Linked DNA regions of Homo sapiens: all the other regions are linked to region 3. The links are contacts of gene promoters, found by promoter capture Hi-C in human tissues and cell types (Jung and others, 2019). All regions are on one chromosome and are shown on one strand. Each heading gives the region's core, a stretch centred on a gene start or on the middle of the fragment in contact. The rest is flanking DNA. Distances are from core to core; before and after follow the strand shown. Region 1 overlaps RBM6 (RNA binding motif protein 6). Region 2 overlaps RBM6 (RNA binding motif protein 6). Region 3 holds the start of CAMKV (CaM kinase like vesicle associated).

What was found. Contacts are between HindIII fragments. The study calls those that stand out against the background at their distance.
Region 1: a fragment that was not itself captured here is called in contact with the fragment with the promoter of CAMKV in region 3 in 2 of the 25 tissues and cell types used here (IMR-90 fibroblasts and lymphoblastoid cells).
Region 2: a fragment that was not itself captured here is called in contact with the fragment with the promoter of CAMKV in region 3 in 1 of the 25 tissues and cell types used here (mesenchymal stem cells).

The regions. Positions count from the first base shown.
Region 1 is chr3:50,037,459-50,041,380 of GRCh38, forward strand. The region is part of intron 6 of RBM6 (RNA binding motif protein 6); the gene reads left to right. Among named protein-coding and RNA genes, the nearest start is that of RBM5, 49 kb to the right of the region's middle. The HindIII fragment of the contact is 5,977 bases long and covers 1-3,922 here.
Region 2 is chr3:50,011,979-50,016,075 of GRCh38, forward strand. The region is part of intron 6 of RBM6 (RNA binding motif protein 6); the gene reads left to right. Among named protein-coding and RNA genes, the nearest start is that of RBM6, 74 kb to the left of the region's middle. RefSeq lists an enhancer at 847-1,515. The HindIII fragment of the contact is 3,634 bases long and covers 1-3,571 here.
Region 3 is chr3:49,868,201-49,872,138 of GRCh38, forward strand. It overlaps CAMKV (CaM kinase like vesicle associated), which reads right to left and starts at 1,706. Exons shown (of 11, transcript NM_024046.5): 1 at 1,558-1,706. RefSeq lists enhancers at 1-458, 459-1,390. The HindIII fragment of the contact is 8,966 bases long and covers 185-3,938 here.

The DNA of each region.
Region 1 (3,922 bases), core at 288-2,787, 170 kb after region 3:
TATTCAGAAGTCCAGAGGCTCTGTATTTTATTAATATTTTCAAGGCACTATTTCTGCAGAAATCAAGTCAGCAAGACTCTTTGAGGACGTTACAGGCAGAGGGGCTAAAGATACCTTTGAGGAAGCTCAAGTACTTGGGTGGGAGGTGATAGATAAAGGGTCAGTAGAAATAATGTCTCTTTTTATTTTTTTTCCCATTAAAAAATTTTGTTTTAATAGCAATGGAGATGGGGTCTCACTGTGTTCCCTGAGCTGGTCTGGTCTCGAGCTCCTGGGTTCAAGCAGTTCTCCCACCTTGACCTTCTAAAGTGTAGGGATTATAGACATGAGCCACCATGCGTGGCAAATTTCTTTTCTTTCCTTTTTTTTTTTTTTTTTTTGAGACAGAGTTTTGCTCTTGTTGCCCAGGCTGGAGTGTGGTGGCACGATCTTGGTTCACTGCACCCTCCACCTCCCAGGTTCAGGTGATTCTCTTGCCTCAGCCTCCTGAGTAGCTGGGATTACAGGCGCCCGCCACCATGCCCGGGTAATTTTTGTATTTTTAGTAGAGATGGGATTTCACCATGTTGGCCAGGCTGGTCTTGAACTCCTGACCTCAGGTGATCCACCCGCCTCAGCCTCCCAAAGTGCTGGGATTACAGGTGTGAGCCACCGCTGCCGGTTCCAATGTCTCTTTTGGATGGTGGATCCTGAAGAATAGCTGCTGGTTCTTTGGGGATGCCTGGGGAATACTGTGCAGGCTTTGTGATGGGCTCAGCAGTGAGGCCTGTACAGTATCTTAGGTCTTGTGGGCCTCAGTCTGCTCTCTTGGCTGTTCTCTACCACCTCCTGCCATTAAGTTTTTAAGAAAAAGGAATAGTTTTATTATATTCTTTGGTAAACAAAGCAAATTAAGAAGCTTTATATTTTCCACATTTATTTACCAAACTCCCTATTTGTTTTTCTCTATAGTGATTCAGTTTAGAGACCTATTCAATGAAGCATGCCTTGATGTTGAATTTAGAGTCTACTTTTTCCAGAAGAAAAGAGCCAGGGAGCTCCAATAGTAGTCATCTCAGAATATAAAAGTGTTATAGAAATGATGTAAATCAGGCCGGGTACAGGGGCTCACGCCTGTAATCCCAGCACTTTGGGAGGCCGAGGCGGGCGGATCATGAGGTCCGGAGATCGAGAACATCCTGGCTAACAGGGTGAAACCCCGTCTCTACTAAAAATACAAAAAAAATCAGCCAGGTGTGGTGGCCGGCACCTGTAGTCCCAACTACTCAGGAGGCTGAGACAGGAGAATGGCGTGAACCCAGGAGGAAGAGCTTGCAGTGAGCCGAGATCGCGCCACTGCACTCCAGCCTAGGCAACAGAGCAAGACTCCGTCCCCAAAAAAAGAAGAAAAAGAAGAAAAGAAATGATGTAAATCAGCTGCCCTTCACTCTGTGTTGAGGTGGGGGATGTCCCTAATTGCAGTAGGAGAGAGCCTCTCTTTTATCTGGGACTAAAAGCCCTTGCCCTACATACCTCATAATTATTTTAGGGTTAACTGATTCAATTGTCAGAAAAGAACAAGCTGTATCTTGTTTCTGTACATATTCTACTTTGTGAGTATTTTTATTTCATTGCTATGTGATTGGAATCAACTCAGGAAAGAGGAAAAAAATAAGATAGAGGTTATAGAATTCTGAATTCTGAAGGGAATTCTGAGAATTATCAGTAAAATATGTCAAAATGTGATATTTTACTTCCACCAAGAATTAGGCCATATCTTTGTGTGAAAATAAATTATTATTATTTATTTATTTATTTTGAGATGGAGTCTCGCTCTTTTCACCCAGGCTGGAGTGCAATCACACAATCTCGGCTCGCTGCAACCTCCACCTCCCAGGTTCAAGCGATGCTCCTGCCTCAGCCTCCCGAGTAGCTGGGATTAGAAGCGCCCATTACCACACCCAGCTAATTTTGTACTTGTAGTAGAGACAGGGTTTCACCATGTTGGCCAGGCTGGTCTCGAACTCCTGACCTCAGGTGATCCACCCCCCCCCCCCCCACCCTTGGTCTCCCAAAGTGCTGGGATTACAGGCATGGGCCACCGCACCCAGCATACGGAAATAAATTATTAACCAGAGAAATTTTGACTAAGGTTTTTATAAATGTTAGGTGAACCATTGCTCTAAAAGATACAAAATTATAACAAGCTGAAAAGTTTTTTAAAAATCTGCATTTTAGTGGTTCAGTTTTTCAGTTGTTCTGAGTGCTAATAGTTGGAGTTTATAAATTGTAAGAAGCAATCTACGGAGATTCTGTGATGAAGGAATTTGTTGAATGCCCTGTCTGCCTCACAGTCTCAGTCTTTATGATAGAGTCTTGTCTTCTCACAAGGAGAGAAAAGATTTGAGGCTCTTTTGATTACTTACTTACTTGCTTATTTATATATTTTGCCTCTTTGTTTTTGCCGCAAATACAAATGTAATGGAACCTTAGAATAGGAGAGACGTGTGGATCCCCTGGTAGGCACTGTTCTTTCTATGTTCCTGGAGCCAAGTTCATGGAATTACCTCCAAGACTACGGATCCCTGGTTTTCTTTCATCATGATAGGAGGCATTTTCTAGAACCTGAATCTTACTTTAAAATGCATGTAAGACCTGCAAGGAGTGGTAGTGAAGTGGGTGGAATATATTCTTAGCACCAGACACCTTTAAAATATTTAAGTTCTCGGCCGGGTGCCCTGGCTCACGCCTGTAATCCCAACACTTTGGGAGGCCGAGGTGGGCAGCTCACGAGGTCAGGAGACCGAGACCATCCTGGCTAACACGGTGAAACCCCATCTCTACTAAAAATACAAAAAATTAGCCAGGCGTGGTGATGGGTGCCTGTAGTCCCAGCTACTCGGGAGGCTGAGGCAGGAAAATTGCATGAACCCGGGAGGCAGAGCTTGCAGTGAGCTGAGATCGCACCACTGCACTCCAGCCTGGGTGACAGAGCAAGGCTCCTTCTCAAAAAAAAAAAAAAAAAAAAAAAAAAATATATATATATATATATATATACACACACACACACACACACACACGTGTGTATATATATACACACACACATGCATATATATATACACACACATGTATATCTATAGATATATACATATATATGTGTATATTTACATTTTCTTATGTCAGGGTCTGGCTTGGAGTGTATTGTGTTCCCAGAGCAGAATTCTTTTTTTTTTTTTTGAGATTGGGTCTTACTTTGTCACCCAGGCTGGAATGCAATGGCGTGAGCTTGGCTCACTGCAGCCTCGACCTCACAGGTTCAAGCAACCCTCCCACCTCAGCCCCTGGAGTAGTTAGGATAACAGGCGCACACTACCATTTTGTATTTTTTGTAGAGGCGGGGTTTTATCACATTGCCCAGGCTGGTCTCGAACTCCTGAGCTCAAGCAATCCACCTGCCTTGACCTCCCCAAATGCTGGGGTTACAGGCGTGAGCCACTGTGCCCAGCCGCAGAGTTCATCTTGAGACCCTGACTTCTGCCAGCTCTGATCCTAGTGGGTGGGGCTCTGGGGCTCAGTGAAACAGTCAGCCGTTTTGCTTCAGAGAACACAAATAAGATTTTGGCTTGATGCTGGTTGTTGCTGGCGTCATATAGTCTAAAACGTTTGCTGTCAAGAACATTTTAGTAAAAGTTTTTGTTGTGCTTTCATCTAGTCAAGAAAAGATAGGAAGTGGCAGCTGACAGGGCAGTGTCTTCATGCCCCTCAACCTTACATTGGACACTGAAGTAGGATTGTGTTTTCACTGGAAGTCCCAGTGGGGCCTTATCTCCTGGATGCTCAAAGTGCAGCTCAGATCCTGTTGGGTAAAAAGTCTAGTCAAAATGGAGGACATGGAGAAGGCCAACAGGCAGAGCTATAGAGCTGACATAGGGCATTCTTTGTA
Region 2 (4,097 bases), core at 505-3,004, 140 kb after region 3:
GTAGCTGGAACTATAAGTTGGAACCATCGTGCCCAGCTAATTTTTTATTTTTTGTAGAGAGAAGGTCTTGCTATATTGTCCAGGTTGGTCTTGAACTTCTAAACTCAAGCAATCCTTCCTGCCTCACCTTCCCAAAGTGCTGGGATTACAGGTGTGAACCATCATGCCTGGTCTAGAACATTTTCATTACCTCAATCGGATCCCCGTTTGGGGATACATTTACATTTTTAATTTTTTAATTTTTATTTTTTTTAGAGACGAGGTCTCAATCTATTGCCAAGGTGGTCTTGAACTCCTGGTTTCAAGTGATCCTCCCACCTTGGTTTCCCGAAGTGCTGGGATTACAGGCATGAACCACCATGCCCAGTCCATTCCAATTTTTTTTTTCTTTTTTTTTGAGATAGAGCCTCACTCTGTCGCCCAGGCTGGAGTGCAGTGGCGTGATCTCAGCTCACTGCAACCTCCACCTCCCGGGTTCACGCCATTCTCCTGCCTCAGCCTCCCGAGTAGCTGGGACTACAGGTGCCTGCCACCACGCCCGGCTAAGTTTTTGTATTTGTAGTAGAGACGGGGTTTCACCGTGTTAGCCAGGATGGTCTCAATCTCCTGACCCTGTGATCCGCCCGTCTCAGCCTCCCAAAGTGCTGAGATTACAGGCGTGAGCCACCGTGCCTGGCCCATTCCAATTTTTTACAAAAGTGATTTCAGACTTATAAAAAAGCTGCAAAAATTCCTGTGTTCTTTTCACCTAGATTCTACCTTTTTTTTTTTTTTTTTTTTTGAGGCGGAGTTTTGCTCTTGTTTCCCAGGCTGGAGTGCAATGGCGCAATCTCGGCTCACCACAACCTCCCCGTCCCGGGTTCAAGCAATTCTCCTGCCTCAGCCTCCCAAGTAATTGGGATTACAGCCATGCGCCACCACGCCTGGCTAATTTTATATTTTTTAGTGGAGACCAGGTTCCTCCATGTTGGTCAGGCTGGTATTGAACTCCCGACCTCAGGTGATCTGACCACCTGGGCCTCCTAAAGTGCTGGGATTACAGGCGTGAGCCACCGTGCCAGGCCCACCCAGATTCTTCTTAGCACATTTGAATGCAGATTTTTGAATAGTTATGATCTATTCTCATTGAAAAAGGGACATCATTTGACTTGACCTCCCACCAGACTCTTCCTTTGAGGTTGGATGGAGGTGCTTAATGGATGCTGTGGATGGTGTGTGAATTTCCATTGGGTTGAGTGGATGATGTATGTGGAAGGCGATTGGGATTTACTTTGTCGGTGTCTCCAAGAGGTCCCCCACTGGGCTTTGTCAGGTGCTGGGGTTGGAGGTCAAGAAGTAGGGCAACATCTAAAGCTTCTACTCCTGGGCACTGTGAGGTTTTTATAGGTCTTTTAAAAAAAACAGTGAATAGGCCGAACGCGGTGGCTCACACCTGTAATCCCAGCACTTTCAGAGGCCGAGGGAGGCGGATCACGAGGTCAAGAGATCAAGACCATCCTGGCCTCGTGGTGAAACCCCATCTCTACTAAAAATACAAAAATTAGCTGGGCATGGTGGCACATGTCTGTAGTCCCAGCTACTCGGGAGGCTGGAGCAGGATAATCGCTTGAACCCTGGAGGTGGAGGTTGCAGTGAGCCCAGATTTCACCACTGCACTCCAGCCTGGCGACAGCGAGGCTCTGTCTCAAAAATATGTTCTTCCATGAGACAGCGGGCATTTGGATGCCTGATACAAAAAGAGGAGGGACTATGTGCTAGTCAGCTTTAGACTGAGAAGCAGCAGCAACCATGGCAAAGGGGAAGCAAACTTTCCTGAGTGGCCTTAATAATGTTATTCGTCAGGCAGTGGCTCTTAAACAGGGGCTTCAAGCAGTGATTTTTGACATGCTCTTCTCCTCCCCAACCACTGGACATTTGGCAATGTCTGGAGACATTTTTGGTTGTCACCACTGGGAGAGGGTGCTACTGGTATCTAGTGAATAGAGCCAGGGATGCTGCTAAACATCCTACAGTGCAAAGGGCAGCTCTCCACACAAAGAATCATCTGGCCCAAAAATCTCTATTGCTGAGGTTGAAAAATACTGGTGTAAGGAGACAAGAGTTGTGGTTAGTCAGAAAGGATGACCTGGCTTGCCGTGGATTGTCTTATAATAATCAGTTATCTCTTTCCTTGCCTTATTCCTGGTCCCAACAGAGTGAGGATTGGCAAGGGGGTTTGGGAATATAGTGGGAATGCTGTGTAGTGAGAGTGCAGGCACGGCACTCCAGACTACCAGTCACGAGCTTAGCCTGTGTCCTTGGGGTAGGAGCTGTAGAATAAGACCTATTTTGATATGTGGACCAGAATAAGTTCTTTAAATAATCAAAGGTAATAAACATTCTTAAAATATACTATCACTAAGGTAGTCTGTCATCCAGCAGAATGAGGGAGTAGTCAGAAGATTACACATATTTGGCAGCAATTACTAGAAAAAACAAACAAGTTGAGAGTTTTCAAAATAGATGTTACTTCATATTTCAGATAGTTTTCCAGGGAATATTGAAAATGCAAGTGCAGATTTTCACATCCTTCTTTATACTGATTAAAACATTTGAATCTATTGGATCATCTTTTCATTAGGCTTTACTTCACAGGGCCATCTACTGGATCCTGTATGCTGATATAGTTAAGGGGACTGACCTCAAAGTAAAAGATGCATATATTTTATCTTAATACAATATCACTTTGCTGTGAAGGGGAGCTGCTGTGTATATAGAATGCTGTGTAATAGTGATTGGGCTGTTGGGAATCACATTGGAAATATCAGTAAGCAACTCATTTTAACTTTTGTTAACACAGTTAAGTGCTGAGCACCTCTTGTGTTTGAAGCTCTGTGCTAGGTAATATGTGTTCATTAATGAATGAAAAAACAATACAAAAATTAGCCAGGCATGGTGGCGTACACCTGCAGTCCCAGCTACTCAGGAGGCTGAGGCACAAGAATTGCTTGAACCCAGAAGGTGGAGGTTGCGGTGAGCCGAGATCACGCCACTGTACTCCAGCCTGGCCAACAGAGTGAGACTGTCTCAAAAAAAAAAAAAAAAAAAAAAAAAGTTTTTTATTTTTAAATTTTTTGTTTTATTTCTTTTTTACTTTTTTTTCTTTTGAGACAGAGTCACGCTCTGTCACCCAAGCTGGAGTGCAGTAGCACCATCTTGGCTCACTGCAACCCCCCGCCTGCCAGGTTCAAGTGGTTGTCCTGCTTCAGCCTCCCAAGTAGCTGGGACTACAGGTACCCACCACCACGCCCGGCTAATTTTTGTATTTTTAGCAGAGGCGGGGTTTCACCATATTGGCCAGGCTGGTCTCAAACTCCTGACCTTATGGTCTGCCCGCCTCAGCCTCCCAAAGTGCTGGGATTACAAGCATGAGCCACTGTGCCTGGCAAAATTTTTATTTTATTATTATTATTATTTTTTTTTTTTTTTTTGAGATGGAGCCTCGCTCTGTTGCCCAGGCTGGAGTGCAGTGGCGCGATCTCGGATCACTGCAAGCTCCGCCTCCTGGGTTCATGCCATTCTCCTGCCTCAGCCTCCTGAGTAGCTGGGACTACAGGCGCGTGCCACCACGCCCGGCTAATTTTTTGAATTTTTTTAGTAGAGGCGGGGTTTCACCATGTTAGCCAGGATGGTCTCCATCTCCTGACCTCGTGATCCACCTGCCTCAGCCTCCCAAAGTGCTGGGATTACAGGCGTGAGCCACCGCTCCCGGCCAATTTTTATTTTATTTTTAATTGATAATTGTACATGTTTATGGAGTACCCATGTTATGATACATGTGCACATTGTAGAATAATTTTTAATTGATAATTGTATACGTTTATGGAGTACCCACGTTATGATACATGTGTACATTGTAGAATGATTGAATCAGACTAGTTAACATATCCATCACCTCATGTAGTTATTTCTTTGTAGTGAGAACATTTAAAATCTCTTTTAGCAATTTTGAAATAGATACAATACATTGTTATTAACTATAGTCACCATGCTGTGCAATAGATAACTAAAACTTCTTCCTCCTGTCTGACTGAAACTTTATACTCTTTGACTAACAT
Region 3 (3,938 bases), core at 456-2,955:
GCCTGGCTGCTTCCCTTTATAGTCCCTCTTCTCAGTTGGCCCAGCTGTACTTAGACCCTCCCAGCCAACCCCTCCCCCATCTGCTATCCTTTCCAGGCTTTGGGTCCCCAGAGCCCCTCTTACAGCTCTGCTTAATCCCCTCTCACCAACCCCCAACAGCAGATCCTGCCATGAGTGCCAGAAACGGCACCACAAGCAACCCAGAAACAGGATAACCACACAGCCCTTCACCTCCCCATGCCTCAGTTTCCCCTAATGGAAACCATGGAATCTGGCCTTCTCCCAGGGCAGAGGACTGCTTGCCTGCCTGTGAATGGTGGCCAGGGCATGGGGCTGGAGAGTAGGGCCATCAGAGATATGTGAACAGCCAGCCTAGGAGAGCACCTGAAGGGTCCACACCAAATATTAGAAAAGGGAGACCCTTGCCCCACCCTGGAAACCAACCTGACTCTGAGTGGAGACACCAGTTCCCCAGTTGAGGAAACTGAGGCTCAGAAGTCGCTGGAGCTGCCAGGAATCAACTCTGAGGGTGGGGGAGGGCACCAGGTCTCTAAAGGTAGTCCTGGGGGCTCAAAGCCTGGACTTGGGGGTAAGGGGAGTACAGCACAGGGACTGGACTACTGCAGACTCTGAGCTTTTAGTGTGGGACAGAGGGCCCTGATCCTTAGGAAGGAACCTGGTGGAGCAGGATCTGCCTGGGAGGTGCGGACAAAAGCAATTTGGCAGAGCTATGCGGGGAGGGGGCTGGGGCTCAAGAGCCCAGGGTCTCTGCCAAACAGTACAAGCTGGGGAAGGCAGAAGCTCATGCTGTCACTATCCCAGCCACCTCCAGCCAGGGGCCCTGCTCCCCACCGTGCTGCCACCCTGACCCCTTTCCCAAGTGCTGCTGGCTCGCCCCCGCTGGCACAGCAACACACATGCGGAAAGCACACGTGTGAGCACCAAGCCCCGCACCTCCCAGCAGGAACATGTGCGCCCCCACCCCCACCGTGCACGTGGGTCCATGCACTGGACCCCCAGCTGGCACCCAGGTGAAGGCTTGGAAGCTGAATTTTGGCTGGGGGGCTGCTGGTCCCCAGGGGCTTGGAGCTTCCTCCCCCACCCCGCGGCAGCCCCGCCCAGCCCCCTCCGGGTTGTCGCCCATAAAGAACTCTCCGTTGTCATGGAAATTAGTGACTGCTAAGCGGGAGGGAAGGGGCCCGGGGACAGTTGGGAGGGGCTGGAGGCGGCTCTGGGAACGGGGAGGGACGGCTCAGCTCTCGGCCCCTATCCTCACGGGGGACCACGAATCTTCGAGGGTTAATCTTTTCACAATTCCGAGCCGCAGAAGCTTCCCCCCAGAACCCCCAAGCCGTCCGAGGTAATGGGGAACTTTAGCCCGACCCCGCACTCCCTCCCCCAAATCTGCAAAGCCCGCGCGCTCTGACCCCGCCAGGACCTCGAGCCCTCGCTGCGCCCCCGCGCACTCTGCATCCCGCACCTCGAGCCAGGGAAACAATCCCCCAAGGCCCCACAACCTGCGTTCGGGAAGCGCCCCCAGCCCGGCCCGCCCCGCACCTGCAGCGCCGGTTGGTCACAGGGAGGAAGTGATCGCGGGCTCAGCGGGGCGCCGAGGGCTCCGGGGACGGCGGGCAGAATCCGCTCCGAGCACGCGGGGCAGACGCGGCGCCAGATGCAGCCGCTTCGGCTAGCGAACCTCCAGCATCGCCAGCCGCTTGCCGGCACCGGATTCGCACCCCGGGCCGGGGGCGGGCTGGGGGCGGGGCCTCCCAACCGGCCCCGCCCCGACCCTGGCGGAGCCTTAAGGGCAGAATCCCACTGGAGAGCAGGAGCGCGCGGGATGGCAGCGGTGCTGGTGAGCACTGGCCTGCTTAGCCCTGGCCAAGGTTCTCAATGGCTCCCTTAGGCCCTCAGCCTGGGGCCGGAGGAGGCCTCCTATGCCCAATGTAAGGGGTGGTGAGTGGAGAGTTGGGGGAAAGCCTGAGTCCTGGAGCTGCATAGGATCGCTTGCCAGTCATTAGTCTCTAGGGAACGGGGCTTTGCCCAGCTCCCCGAACCCGACCCAAAAGGCAGGACCAACTTAGAAAAACCAGATGGGCAGTCGGGCTAGGGCAGGCTCCCCTAGCTAGGAGCAGTAAACACACAGAGGTGTGTGTTTGCAGGTAGTCAGTGTGGCATCCCCTAGCATCCCCTAGCTACGCATCCCCTAGCTAGGAGCAGTAAACACACAGAGGTGTGTGTTTGCAGGTAGTCAGTGTGAAAACAGTGAGGGCCCTAGACTGTAGTAGCAAAGTCTCCTATCCCACCCCATCCCCAACTCCTGCAAGGCCAGAGTCTTTCCCAAACATAAGTACCAGCAAGGGTGGCAGCACAGTCAGCCCCTTCCTGTGTGGCACCAAATTTCCCAAACTATAAAAGTCACCTGTGACATGGTGTGGCCTCTGCTTTCTTTTCAGTCTAATCACTGTCAAACACTTCATGAGTTGTATCACTCTAGTGGCCTGGCCTGGGATATGGGGACACAGGAGAACTGTGGCACCAAGGTATCCCACCTGGCCTGGGTGCTAATCAGAGGGAGGAGGCTCAGAACCACCAGGAGGAAGCTTTAAAGGAAGTCCTTGGCCATTTCTCTGTCCCTTGTCAGTGAGGCTCACGGACCCAAAGCCTGACCCACACCCCTCACAAGCCCTGAGGACCATCCTAAGGCCAGTATCTGAAGACCAGACTCAGGCCTCTCAGTGTCTGGAGCTGGGTTTTATCCCACCTCACTCCTCCCAGTGAGCCTCCTGACCCTGCTGTGGGAGAGGGAGTTGGGGTCATCCCCAAACCCTCAGCCATCTTGAGGCTGCCCTGGCCACCCATGGCTGATGACAGGAGGGACTGTCCAAGTCCAGAAGCTGGGGCTGGGGCTCAGACTGAAGGCTAGCTTAGGAAATGACCGCCTCAAACAAGGTTCCTCAAAATTTTCCTCCAGAGGGGGTACTGAGCCCTTCACCTTCCTCCCTGGCTTGGTGTTACCTCCTCTAGGCCAGGCTGGTGCCACTTCTGGGGTCCCTGGGCTCTGAGTGGTCTCGGGTTATGGGACCCACCCCACCACTGGGTAGGAATCTCCTGGCAGGCTGGGTATCTGCAAGGCAGAACCCGTTTCTCATCTCAGTATGCTCGGCTGATGTCTGCAGAATGAATGAATGGCCTGGCACTGAGTCCTTCCTGCCATCTGCCCACTATTCTTGAAACAATGGGTCTCTGAGTTTTATGGTGTAGCCAAGCTGTAGCTTGCTGACCCCACACATGCCACATACATGTTTTCTGTCTTTCCTGAGGGTCATGGCTATCCAGGCATGGGGGTCAATGAGAAGCTGGAATGGGGATTTTTAGGCAGGGGAAGGGGTGGCTCCTTAGCGCCCTGCCTGCTGCTGGCAGTACTCCACCTCTTCTTGGTCCTAAGCACGCTCTGTGCATGTGGGTGAGAGCACGTGGCAGGGTGTGTGTGCACACGTGTACGTGTTGTGTATGCTCTCTTTTGCCGAGGGAGATGCAACAGCACAGTGTATGCAGTGGTGCCCAGGGGCACGTGTGTCTGCATTCTTTGTGCACCCAGGCATGCTTGCTGGCACGTGTGTGTGGACGCTGTAGCTGGTCCCTGGAGTTATCAGTCCCCTTCCTGCCTGACACAAGTCTCAGGATTGTGGAGGCTGAATCAGGCTTTGAGAGCTGGACATGGGAAGGGGGCTGGACCATGTCCAGCAGTGGGCAGGGTCTGTGCTGACCCTACATCATTGGCTGTTTTCAGGCTCCCCACCAGAGCAGCCCCTTGATCTCTGGTGTATGTGAAGATAGACAAGTCTTTGCCATTTGTGGAGGGCAATCTGAAGACAAGAACCCAGGGCTAGGATTGAGCCATGGCTTATCCCTCAGCCCCTAGACAGGAAGGCACA